Linked DNA regions of Homo sapiens: region 2 is linked to region 1. The links are contacts of gene promoters, found by promoter capture Hi-C in blood cells and fetal thymus (Javierre and others, 2016). All regions are on one chromosome and are shown on one strand. Each heading gives the region's core, a stretch centred on a gene start or on the middle of the fragment in contact. The rest is flanking DNA. Distances are from core to core; before and after follow the strand shown. Region 1 holds the start of PRAM1 (PML-RARA regulated adaptor molecule 1). Region 2 overlaps NFILZ (NFIL3 like basic leucine zipper).

Region 1 (6,308 bases), core at 3,399-5,898:
CTGCCTCAGCCTCCCAAGTAGCTGGGATTACAGGTGCCCCCCACCACACCGGGCTAATTTTTGTATTTTTAGTAGACGGGGTTTCACCACGTTGGCCAGGCTGTTGTCGAACTCCTGACTTCAGGAGATCCGCCCACTTCAGCCTCCCGAAGTTCTGGGAGCTCCAGGCCGAGATGAGGCCTCTTTGAGCCCCACAATCCGCACCCACCTCCGCTTCCTCCCCACACTCACTGCGGGATGTCTTCAGGCTGTCGGTCCTGGAAGTGGAGCCCAGCGGCCGAGCGGGTCCTCCGTAGATCTGTGGGGTAGAGAGTAGGGCAGGGAAGCCGGCACTGCCTGGGACCTCAGCCCCCGCTCCTGCCGGTGCCGCCCGCCCTCACCCACCTATGGATGCTGCAGAGGGTCTCCGAAAGCTCTGCATATCCACGGGCCCCGGGGGCAGCGGGGGCTTGGCTGGAGGGTGTCCCAGGCTGCTGGCAGGGGGCAGAGGCCTCCGCCGGGGTGGATGGCTGGGTCTGAGGCCTGGCCTGGCCCCTCCACTGTGAACCAGGCCTCCTGACCTCCAGCGGGGTGTCCCAGCCGCTCCAAACCCAGGGCTGAGCGGGTGCCGGGAGCTGAAGCCGGCCACGGCCGCAGGCAGTGAGCTCTCGGAAGCGGAGCTGGGGAGTGGAGGCTTTCGAGGGAGATCACCGAAGAACTCAGGCTGCGGGTGTCTCTTGAGGACAGCGCTGGGCTCAGGCTGTGAGAACTTGCGGGGTGGCCCCCGGCGCTCCGGCTGCAGCAGCTTCCTGGGGAGTGAGTTGAACTCGGGCTCTGAGGAGGTCCTGGGGAGGCCGCCCAGCTCGGGCTGCGGGGGCTTCTTGGAGAGCGCTTTGAATTCGGCCGGCCGCGGCCTCTTGGGAAGCACGCTGACTTCGGGCTCTGAGGAGGTCCTGGTGAGGTCCCCAAGCTCAGGCTGCGGAGGCTTCTTGGGAAAGTCACTCAGCGGAGGCTGGGAGGCCTTTTTGGGAAAGGCGCTGGAGTCGCGCTTCGGCTCGCTGGACTGAGGCTTCCAGAGGGGAGTCTGAGCGGCCTCGCTGAACTCAGGCTGCGGCACGGACTTCTTAGGGAGGCCACCGACCTGAGGCTGCGGAGGCTTTTTGGGGTACACGTTGAACTCAGGCTGCGCAGGCTTCTTGGGAAAGGTACTCAACTCAGGCTGCGGGGACCTCGGGGTAGCCTCACCGGCCTCGGGTTGCCAGAGCTTCCTGGGGAATGCGCCGGATTTGGGTTCGGAGGGGGGTCTGGCGGGGTGACTGAGTTCGTCGGGCTGCAGGGGTTTCCGGGCCGGCGCACCAGGCTCCGGCAGCGAGGCCTTCAAAGGGGCCTCACCGACCTCAGGCTGCAGGGGCTTCCTTGGAAACGGAGTGGCCCCCAGCTGTGGGAACTTCTTGGAGAGGTCACTCAACTCCAGTTTGGACGGCTTCTTGGGGAGGTCAGTGACCTCAGGCGGCGGGGGCTTCTTGGGGAGGTCAGTGACCTCAGGCGGCGGGGGCTTCTTGGGGAGGTCAGTGACCTCAGGCGGCGGGGGCTTCTTGGGGAGGTCAGTGACCTCAGGCGGCGGGGGCTTCAAGGACACTGCACCAAACTCAGGCAGCGGGGCCTTCTTGGGGTGCTCGCTTAGCTCAGGCTGGGAGAACTTCTTCAGTTTACCAAACTCAGGCTTCGGAGGTTTTTTGGGCAGGTCGCTGGGCTCCGGCTGAGAGGCCTGGAACTTTGCTTTGATGCTCCGGAAGTCCTGATGGCTCTCCTAGGAGACGCAGAGCCAATGAGGCAGGGGCTCAAACACACAGAAGGGGCATGGAAGGATGGGCCTGGGGACCCTCAGGCACAGCCCACAACCACCACCCCTGCGCCCAGGCCCGGTCAGCCCTCAGCTCTTTCCCAGGAGCCCCCATGGATCCTAGGATCCTGGGACCGACACCCCTCCCTACTTCTCCATTTAGTGCTGATTCCACACCCAACCTCCTCTAGCAGCACTGGAGATCCCGACATCCCTCCTGCAGCCTCCAGTCCCACTGCCCTCCCCCCATGGGTGGTACCCCACCCCCCCAGCATCCTTGACCCCCTCATTCTTTCACCCCTCCCACTGCATGTCTCCAGTCTCGTTCCATTGCCCAGGCTGGAGAGCAGTGGTGCAATCATAGCTCACTGCAGCTTGCAACTCCTGGGCTCCAATGATTCCCCCGACCTCGGCCTCCCCAGTAGCTGGGATTACAGGCTTGAGCCGCCGCGCCCAGGCCCCCAGTCCCTTCTGTGCTAATTTCAAAACACATCCGGAATCCAACCACTTCTCACTGCCTTCACCACTGTCACCCCAGGAGGTAGTGGGAGGCAGTGTCTGCCCTCCCCCAACCAATTGCCTGGATTACTCTAACAAGCCCTTCCCTGGGCCTCTGCCTACCCCCTTCCCTGGTCAGTTCCCCCCATGGCAGCTGGAGGGAGAAGCCTGTTGAACCCTGAGTCTGTTTGTGTCCCTCTGCTCAAAACTCGGCAATGCTTCCTCATGTCCCCACAGTTCAAGCTAAATGCCTCATAAAAGCCTGGGCGAACCAGCCTCCCTACCCAGCCACCTTCTCCTCCCTGCACCCTGAACACTTCCCTCCGACCTCGGGGCCTCTGCCCTGTCCCTGACCCAGGACATGTCTCTGCACCACCTGGGTCTCTCCTTTTCCTCCTCCCAGCCTCTGTTCTCATATTTTCTTATTAGAGAGGCCATCCAAGGCCACCCTATTTGTTTATTTTTATTTTTTGAGATGGAGTCTTGCTCTGTCACCCAGACTGGAGTGCAATGGCGCGATCTCGGCTCACTGCAATCTCCACTTCCCAGGTTCAAATGATTCTCGTGCCTCAGCCGCCCAAGTAGCTGGGATTACAGGCACTCGCCACCACACCTGGCTAATTTTTGTATTTTAACTAGAGACAGGGTTTCACCACGTTGGCCAGGCTGGTCTCAAACTCACGACCTCAGGTGATCCACCCTCCACCCGCCTCAGCCTCCCAAAGTGCTGGGATTACAGGTGTGAGCCACCGTGCCCAACCTAGACCACCCTATTTTTCTTTCTTTCTTTTTTTTTTTTTTTTTTGAGACGGAGTCTCACTCTGTCACCCAGGTTGGAATGCAGTGGTGGAATCTCGCCATACTGCAACCTCCGCCTCCTGGGTTCAAGCGATTCTCAGCCTCCTGAGTAGCTGGGATCACAGGTGTCTGCCACGACGCCTGGCTAATTTTTTTTGTATTTTTAATGGAAACAGGGTTTTACCATGTTGGCCAGGCTGGTCTCGAACTCCTGACCTCAAGTGATCCACCCACCTCGGCCTCCCAAAGTGCATGAGCCATCACGCCTGGCCTAGACCACCCTATTTTAAATGGATCACCCCATCCCACTACTGCCCTGCATTCAGCATGCATGATTTTCTCCATCGTACCCACCCCTACGTATTATACTATTTTACATTGTTTTTAATGTGTCTTGATTTTTTTTTTTTTTTTTTTTTGTCTCTCTACACCACAACTTCCCTCAGTTCCTCAGCCTCTGCAAGGCAGAGACTTGGCTCATTCATTGCTGTCTTCCCAGGGCCTGGAACATGGTAGGTGCTCAGTAAATATTTGCTGAAATAAACAATATTCAGGCAGCACAAAGACAGCCATGTACTCAGCCTGACCATCAGGAAAACACAGAGATGCCTGGAGACGGCCATGCGGTCCCTCTCACACCGTCTCTGACATGCGGGCTGATGGTCAGGAATGCTCACAGTTGACAGTGCCTGAGAGGATTGGTGCAGACACCGTGGGCACAGGCGCTGTCTCCTGCATACCCAGCTGTCCCAGCTGCCCTCCTAGCTGGCCCTGCAACCACTCCTCACAGAGGTAGGCAGATTCACAAGAAGGCCAGGCCTCCTTAGTCCTACAAACGCCCCTTTCACCTGTGGTCAAGGAGATTGGGGGAGGGAAAGGGCAGAAACGTGTGGCCTTTGCTTCCTGCGTGTGCCTCACTTTCCCCATCCAGAGGACCAGAGACCAGGATTGCTCCTTGGAAAGGCAGCAATTCCCACCTGGGGCCTGAAGTGCCCCTGTCAAAGCCCCGAGTGGTTTGAAGGAAGTGCTCCCGGGCGACCACAGGGCTAGATAAGTCAGGGTTAGCAGGTCACAACTTGGGTGACTGGACGGGGGAGGGTCATGACCCACTTTGTCACCCCGCAGGAAAGCACTGCTCTCACCCCAGCAGCCCGTTCCCACATGGCTGCTCATGTTGACCTGGGGAGACGGGAGTTGTCCCCCCGGGGAGTCCCATCTGTCCCCCTCGCAGTCCCAACCTGAGCGTGAACCCCCAGGAGCCCGCGCTGTCCTGGGGTGTGCCTGGTGGCCGCCTACCTCGGGTCCTTTTTGCCGACCCTTCCCGTTTCCCAGATGTCTTTCGCAGCCACCCCCCGCCCCCCCGCCCGCCCCTCCACAGGTGGATCCTATCCTTCTGGGAACATCTGTGTCCCTTGCTTCCCAGCCAGTGAGGCACAGGCCTCTTCCAGCACTCACCATGGCTGCAGGCAGGTGATGGGCCATGGGATGAGTGGGACCCGAGCTGGGGCCGCTGCCTTCAGGAAGTGACTGTGGCTTCTGCTCCACGGTCAGCACACAGGGTGGGGGCTGCTAGAGGTGGGGCGGGGGAGGGCAGAGGAGGAAGGGAAGGAGGTGGGGAGGCTCCAGTCCGTCTCCAGATCCTGCCAGCCACTTCTTTTTTTTTGAGACTGAGTCTTGCTCTGTCGCCCAGGCTGGAGTGCCATGGTGCCATCTCGGCTCACTGCAACCTCTGCCTCCCGGGTTCAGGCAATTCTTTTGCATCAACCTCCTGAGTAGCTGGGATTACAGGCGCGCACCACCGCTCCTGGCTACTTTTCGTATCTTTAGTAGAGAAGGGGTTTCACCATGTTGGGCAGGCTGGTCTCAAACTCCTGACCTCAAGGGATCGGTCCGCCTCGGCCTACCAAAGTGCTGGGATTACAGGTGTGAGCCACTGCCCCGGCCCCTGCTGGGCACTTCTATTTCGCTTGAATTCCTGTCCTGCCTGCTACTGTCCCAAGCTTGGGGCACTGGTTGCCCGCATGTTCCTAACATGGTCACTAGTTTCTTTCTTTTTTTTTTTTTTTTTTTTTTTTTTGAGACGGGGTATCACTTTGTTGCCCAGGCTGGAGTGTAGTGGCGCAATCTCGACTCACTGCAACCTCCGCCTCCCAGGTTCAAGCGATTGTCCTGCCTCAGTCTCCTGAGTAGCTGGAATTACATGCATGTGCCACCACTGCCGGCTAATTTTTTGTATTTTTAGTAGAGACGGGGTTTCACCATGTTGGTCAGGCTGGTCTCAAACTCCCAACCTCAGATGATCTGCCCGCCTCGGCCTCCCAAAGTGCTGGGACTACAGGCGTGAGCAACCACGCCTGGCCAACTAGTTTCTTACTCTCTATAGTCCCCATCATTCCTACTACTTTGGTGTCCCCATCTCTGGACTCCAGGGAGGACTCCATGCCAGGCCCTGGTGACCTCCTGGGCTAGAGAGCCACAGGATGGGGAGATCTCAGCAGATCAGGGGTACGGACAGCTCTGGGGTTTAGGAGGCTCCTGGGGAGGCCCAGAGGCCCAGGACGTGGGGGCCCATGTGACCGGGTGAGGCCTCTGCTGTCTGCCCTGGTTGGCTCATCCGCCTTCCTCATTTCAACACTTCCATGAAATCCAATTCCCGGCTCTGAGCAGGACTCACTTGTTCTGGGGCAGATATCACAGGCCATGGATGTCCCAGGCTGCCGCCCTGGGCAGAAAGCTTAGCTGGTACAGCAGATTTGGGGGTCGGTGGGTGAGTGGTGTCAAAGGCCTTGCACCTGGGCCACGCACGGTGGCTCACGCCTGTAATCCTAACACTTTGGGAGGCTGAGGCAGGAGGATCACTTGAGCCCAGGAGTTCAAGACCAGCTTGGGCAATGTAGCAAGACTCCATCTCTACAAAAAATATAAAATTAGCCAGGTGTGATGGTGCACGCCTGTGGTCCCAGCTGCTTGGGAGGCTGGGGTGGGAGAATCACTTGAACCCTGAAGGCGGAGGTTGCAGAGTCAAGATCACGCCACTGTACTCCATGCTGGGTGACAGAGAGAGACTCCATCTCAAAAAAAAAAAAAAAAAAAGGCTTTGCAGTTCTGGAGGAGTGAGGGGGTCTGAGGACCCGAGGACACACCAGATTCCCAGAGGTTAGAGGTAGTAGAGAGAAGAGGAACCAGGAGA
Region 2 (6,288 bases), core at 1,230-3,729, 130 kb after region 1:
TTTTTTTTGAGATAGAGTCTTGCTCTGTCACCCAGGCTGCAGTACGGTGGCGCCATCTCGGCTCATTGCAACCTCCACCTGCCAGGTTCAAGCGATTCTCCTGCCTCAGCCTCCCAAGTAGCTGGGACTACAGGTGTGTGCTATCATGCCCAGCTGATTTTTGTATCTTTGGTAGAGAAGGGGTTTCACCATGTTGGCCAGGCTGGTCTTGAACCCCTGGCTTCAAGTGATCCACCCCCTTGGTCTCCCAAAGTGTTGGGATTACAGGCGTGAGCCACCCTGCCTGGCCTCTTTTTTTTTTCTTTTTGAGACAGGGTTTCACTCTGTTGCCCAGGCTGGATTGCAGTGGTGCAATCCAGCCTTGAATGTCTGGGCTCAAATGATTCTCCCACATCAGCCTCCTGAGTAGCTGGAACTATCGGCGCATGCCGTGACACCCAGCTAATTTTTATTTTTTGTAGAGATGGGATCTCTCTCAAATTCCTGGCCTCAAGTAATCCTCTTGCCTCAGCCTACCAAAATGCTGGGCCTTATTATTGTAATGTTTTTTCCTTTCATTTAAGTAAAAATTAAAGTGTAATTTACTGGCCAGGTGTGGTGGCACAGGCCTATAGTCCCAGCACTTTGGGAGGCTGAGGCGGGCGGATCGCTTGAGCTCAGGCATTGGAGATCAGTCTGGGCAACACAGTGAGACCTTGTCTCTACAAAAAACAAAACAGAAAATTAGCTGGGCATAGTGGTGTGCATTCGTAGTTCCAGCTAATTGGGAGGCTAAGGTGGGAGGATCACTTGAATCCGGGAAGTCGAGGCTGCATCAAGCCAAGATGGCCCCACTGCACTTTAGCCAAGACCCTATCACAAACAAACAAACAAACAAACAAACAAACAAACAAACAAAAAAACAAAAAAACCAGTGTAATTTACTGACAGTGAAACCCATACATATTAGTATACGATTCTGTGATATTTGACAAACCACACAACCCTATAACCACAACCTCAATAGAAATACAGAATACCGGCCAGGCCTGGTGGCTCACACTTGTAATCCTAGCACTTTGGGAGGCTGAGGCGGGTGGATCACTTGAGGTCAGGAGTTCAAGACCAGCCTGGCCAACATAGTGACTCTCTGTCTCTACTAAAAATACAAAAATTAGCCGGGCATGGTGGTGGGCACCTGTAATCCCAGCTACTCAGGAGGCTGAGGCAGGAGAATCGCTTGAACCTGGGAGGCGGAGGTTGCAGTGAGCCGAGATCATACCACTGCACCTCAGCCTGGGCAACAGAGCAAGACTCCATCTCAAAAAAAAAAAAATTAAAAAAAAAAAAAAAGAAATACAGAATACCTTTTTCCCTCCCAATTCCTGCAATTCCTGCGTGCCCCTCTGGAGTCAATTTCTCTCCCTCAGTCCCAGCCCCTGGCCCCTGCTGACTTCCTCTCTGTTGCTATATTTCTGCCTTTTCCCAGGATATTATGTCAATGGAATCGTACCATAGGCAGCTTTTGGCGCATACTTCTTCCAGGCAGCAGAATGCATTTGAGGCTTATTCACGTTGTTGGGTGTAGCATTTTTTGTTTCTTTTACTGTTGAGGAGTCCCTGGTATGGATGTGTCACCATGCATCCATTCATTTGTTGACAGACACGTGAGTTGTTTCCAGTTTTGGTGACGAATGCCCAAATTCATAGGCGATGATAAATAATGTGCCAGACGTTGATGTGCAAGTTTTGGTGTGAGGGTAAGTTTCCATTTCTCTACGGTGAATACCTATGAGTCCTTATTCTCTCTCTCTGTCTCTGACTTTCTCTTTCTCTCTTTATTTATTTGTTTATTTATTTTTATTTATTAGACAGGGTCTTGCTCTGTCACCCAAACTGGAGTGCAATGGTGCAGTCTTGGCTCATTGCCACCTCTGCCTCCTGGGCTCAAGCTATTTTCCTGTCTCAGCCTCCAGAGTAGCTGGAATTACAGGTGCGCACCACCACACCCAGCTGATTTTTGTATTTTTAGTAGAGAGGGGGTTTCACCGTATTGCCCAGGCTGGTGTTGAACTCCTGGCCTCAAGTGTTCTACCCGGCTCATCCTCCCAAAGTACTGGTATTACAGGCATGAGCCACCACACCCAGCCAAAACCAGCCTTTTAAAAAAATTTTATTTTCGGCTGGGCGCGGTGGCTCATGCCTGTAATCTCAGCACTTTGGGAGGCCGAGGCGGGTGAATCACGGGGTCAGGAGTTCGAGACCAGCCTGACCAACATGGTGAAACCCCGTCTCTACTAAAAATACAAAAATTAACTGGGCATGGTGGCACACGCCTGTAGTCCCAGCTACTTGGGAGGCTGAGGCAGGAGAAATGCTTGAACCTGGGAGGCGGAGGTTGCAGTGAGCCGAGATTGCGCCATTGCACTCCAGCCTGGGCAACACAGCGAGACTCCATCTTTTTTTTTTTTTTTTTGAAACAGAGTCTTGCTCTGTCGCCCAGGCTGGAGTTCAATGGCGCCATCTCGGCTCACCGCAACCTCTGCCTCCTGGGTTCAAGCAATTCTCCTCCCTTAGCCTCCTGAGTAGCTAGGATTACAGGCATGCACCATCATGCCCAGCTATGTTTTTTTTTTTAATTTTTATTTTTAGTAGAGACGGGGTTTCACCATGTTGGTGAGGCTGGCCTTGAACTCCCGACCTCAGGTGATCAGCTTGCCTTGGCCTCCCAAAGTGCTGGGATTACAGGCGTGAGCCACCATGCTTGGCTAATTTTTGTATTTTTAATAGAGGTGAGGTTTCACCCTTTTGCCCAGGCTGGCCTCGAACTCCTGACCACAAGTGATCCGCCCACCTTGGCCTCCCAAAGTTTTGGGATTACAGGCATTAGCCATTGCGCCTGGCCTATATGGAGGCTTTTGTATGGAGAGACAGGACACTGGTCCCCTGGATACTGGAGGGGGACAGTCAGGGATAGAGCTGGGGCCAAGGGGAAGATATAGAAGTGCGAATCAGGTGAGGTATAGGACAGGGTGCCTGGAGGGGAGGCCAGAATCTTCATTCTAACCAAATCCTTGCCTAGTTTTTAAAAAAATGGGCAAGGCTGAATGTGGTGGCTCATACCTGTAGTCCCAGTACTTTAAGAGGCCAAGGCAGAAGGATCACTTGAGCCCAGGAGTTCGAGGCTGCAGTGAGCTAGGACTGTGCACTCCAGCCGGGTGTGATGACGCACACATATAATCTCAGCTCTCAGAAGGCTGAAGCAGGAGAGTCACTTGAATCCAGGAGGCAGAGATTGTAGTGAGCTGAGATCACACCACTGCACTCCAGCCTGGGCAATAGAAAAAAAACCAAAACCAAACCAAAACAAAACCTTAAACACAAAGTTACCATAGAACTCAGCAACTCCTGAGGTCAGGAGTTCGAGACCAGCCTGACCAACATGGTGAAGCCCCTTCTCTACTAAAAATACAAAAATTAGCAGGGAATGGCGGTGCATACTTGTAGTCCCAGCTACTTGGGAGGCTGAGGCAGGAGAATAGCTTGAACTGGGGAGGTGGAGGTTGCAGTGACCCGAGATTGCACCACTGCTCTCCAGCCTAGGCGACAGAGTGAGACTCCATCTCAAAAAAAAAAAAGGCCGAGTGCAGTGGCTCACGCCTGTAATTCCAGCACTTTGGGAGGCTGAGGCATGTGGATCACCTGAGGTCAGGAGTTTGAGACCAGCCTGACCAACATAGTGAAACTCCATCTCTACTAAAATACAAAAAATTAGCCAGGCATGGTGGCAGATGCCTGTAATCTCAGCTACTTGGGAGGCTGAGGCAGGAGAATCACCTGAACCAGGGAGGCGGAGATTGCAGTGAGCTGAGATTGCGCCACTGTACTACAGCCTGGGCGACAAGAGCAAGACTAAAGATGGTCTCAAAAAAAAAAAAAAAAAAAAAAGAAAAGAACAGAAAAAGAAAAACAAAAAGCCTCCACATAGTCCCCTTGCTCTTGTAGAACAGAGAAGGACTTCATAGACCTTTCCCCAACACAGGTTAGTGCCAGCATGACCTTGCCAGGCCACCTTAATAGAGCAAAGATCAGTAGATGCTATGGGAAGTCAAATTTTCTCAACATTAGAAACTCTTTCCAACACACAGAAAAATGGAAAGAATTGGGCACAGGCACACTCACCCCTAGATTCTACAACGAACTCATTGCCATTCCGCGGTAAACGCTAAGCCAGGCGTCACACGCTATGCTGTGTGATGCTAGAAGTGCGCACACTTATCCTGTTGGTGGTGGAATTTACACGTGCGTTCATGAGTGTGCACGTGCGTTAGCCGCTGTGTGCATTTGTGGGCGTGCAAAGGGATGTGCCTGGGGGAAAACCTCACACAGTGGTTAGGAAGCCTGTGCAGTTGAACTGTGGGGGCTCCCGTCTTGCTTCTGCCACTTAAGGACTGTGGGGCCTTGGGCGAATTGCCCAACTTCTCTCCTGCCCGTTTCCTCTTTCAGTGTGGATTCATTCATTCAACAAATATTTACGGAACGAACACCTCCTGCGTGCCAGGCTCCATTCCAAGCACTGGGGGTTGCAGCGGCGAACAAAACAGACCCAAATGCCTGCCCTGGTGGGCCAGGAAGGCAGAAATAAAGATGAAGAGTTGGTCAAGTCTGCAGTATGTCACAGGGTGGTAGGGCTGCGTTTGTGTACATGGGGAAGAGGCTGCAGCTTTAGAGGTGGGGGGACCTCCCGGGGAAGGTGAGGAGAGTGAGGTGCTTCTAGGGGGATGGAGGGGAGGGGAGAGTCTTTCTGGCAGAGGGCAAAGCAAGTGCAAAGGCCCTGAAGCAGGAATTTACTTTGCTGTTTTTTTTTTTTTTTTTGAGATGGAATCTCGCTCTGTTGCCCAGACTGGAGTGCAGTGGCACAATCTTGGATCACCGCAACCTCTGCCTCCCGGGTTCAAGGGATCCTCCTGCCTCAGCCTCCGAGTAGCTGGGATTACAGGCGCACACCACCATGCCCAGCTAATTTTTTGTATTTGTAATAGAGACAGGCTTTCACCACATTGGCCAGGCTGGTCTCAAACTCCTGGCCTCAAGTGATCTGCCCGACTCGGCCTCCCAAAGTGGTGGGATTGCAGGTGTCAGCCACTGAGCCCGGCCTACTTGGCTGTTTAAGGAACAGTGAGGAGGTCCATGTGGTTGGAGCAGAGTGATAGAAGGGGTGAGAGGAAGGAGGGCAAAGGCAGAGAGGTGACAGTGGGTGTTGTGGGGAAGGAGAGCTTGCAAGATCTCAAGAGTTACAGGCATGGCAGGCCAGGCATGGCGGCTCACACCTGTAACCCCAGCACTTTGGGAGGCTGAGGCAGGAGGATCATTTGAGCCTGGAAGTTTGCGACCAGCCTGGGCAACATAGCAAGACCCCTGCCTCTACAAAAACAAAACAAAACAAAACAAAACGCAACAATTAGCCAAGTATGGTGGCATGTGCCTGTAGTCCCAGCTACTCAGGAGGCAGGAAGATCGCTTGAGCCCAGGAGTTTGAGGCTGTAGTGAGCTATGATCGCACCACAGCAATACAGCCTGGGTCACAGAGCCAGACCATCTCTTAAGAAAATTAAAAAAAAAAAAAAAAGATTTGCAGAAAGTACTCAAGCTTTTACCCTGGGATGTGTTGAGGGTGTCCTCTCTGGCTGCTGGGTGGATGATAATAGCACCTACCTGAAGGAGTTGTTGGAAGGACGACATGAATTAATATGTGTAAAGTGATAGGCCAGTGTCTGGCATATACCACACATGGGGTAAGGATTAGTTTATTTTTATATGCGGTAGGCGTGTGTGTGTTGGGTGTCTCTGGGCGGCAGCTGAGCCAGGTGGCCATTAGTGAGTTTGTTGTTGTGAAAGAATCTCTCTAACACTATTTAAAAAACCCTGCTGGGTGTTTAAAAGCCCTACTGGGGTTGCCATGTTTTGGCTGGGTCCCGGCTCTTTTGTATAACAGATGTTACCCAGATGTCAGCTGGGGTCAATAGAGCCTCAGAGATTTGGCGTCTGCCTCTCTCCCACGACCTGTGGGAAGCCTGGTGCCCTCTGTGAGATGCTTGTGAATTCCCAGGGCCTCTGTTCTCATGGTTGCGTCTTGGCCTGAGTTCCTGCCCGCTGAACTCTTGCCCTCACCCACCTTCCTGGGGCCAGTGCTTTGCGGGTGAACCGGTCCTGTGTTCTTGATTTTCCCCCAGATCACTCTTGCACATGGACTGCCTGCAGGTTGCCTCTCAAGATACTGTGCTCTCCCAGTCTGGCCAATGTAGCAAG

What was found. Contacts are between HindIII fragments. The CHiCAGO score rates a contact against its expected background, and 5 or more counts as called.
Region 2: a contact is called between a fragment that was not itself captured here and the fragment with the promoter of PRAM1 in region 1, in 1 of 17 cell types (naive CD8 T cells). The highest score is 6.1, in naive CD8 T cells.

Annotation. Positions count from the first base shown.
Region 1 is chr19:8,497,992-8,504,299 of GRCh38, forward strand. PRAM1 (PML-RARA regulated adaptor molecule 1) reads right to left here and starts at 4,649. Exons shown (of 10, transcript NM_032152.5): 1 at 4,574-4,649; 2 at 385-1,789; 3 at 232-298. The coding sequence starts at 4,600. RefSeq lists an enhancer at 518-1,204. The HindIII fragment of the contact is 16,783 bases long and covers 1-5,116 here.
Region 2 is chr19:8,634,008-8,640,295 of GRCh38, forward strand. NFILZ (NFIL3 like basic leucine zipper) reads left to right here. Exons shown (of 6, transcript NM_001378600.1): 3 at 1,643-1,739. Among named protein-coding and RNA genes, the nearest start is that of NFILZ, 6.5 kb to the left of the region's middle. The HindIII fragment of the contact is 6,295 bases long and covers 1-5,627 here.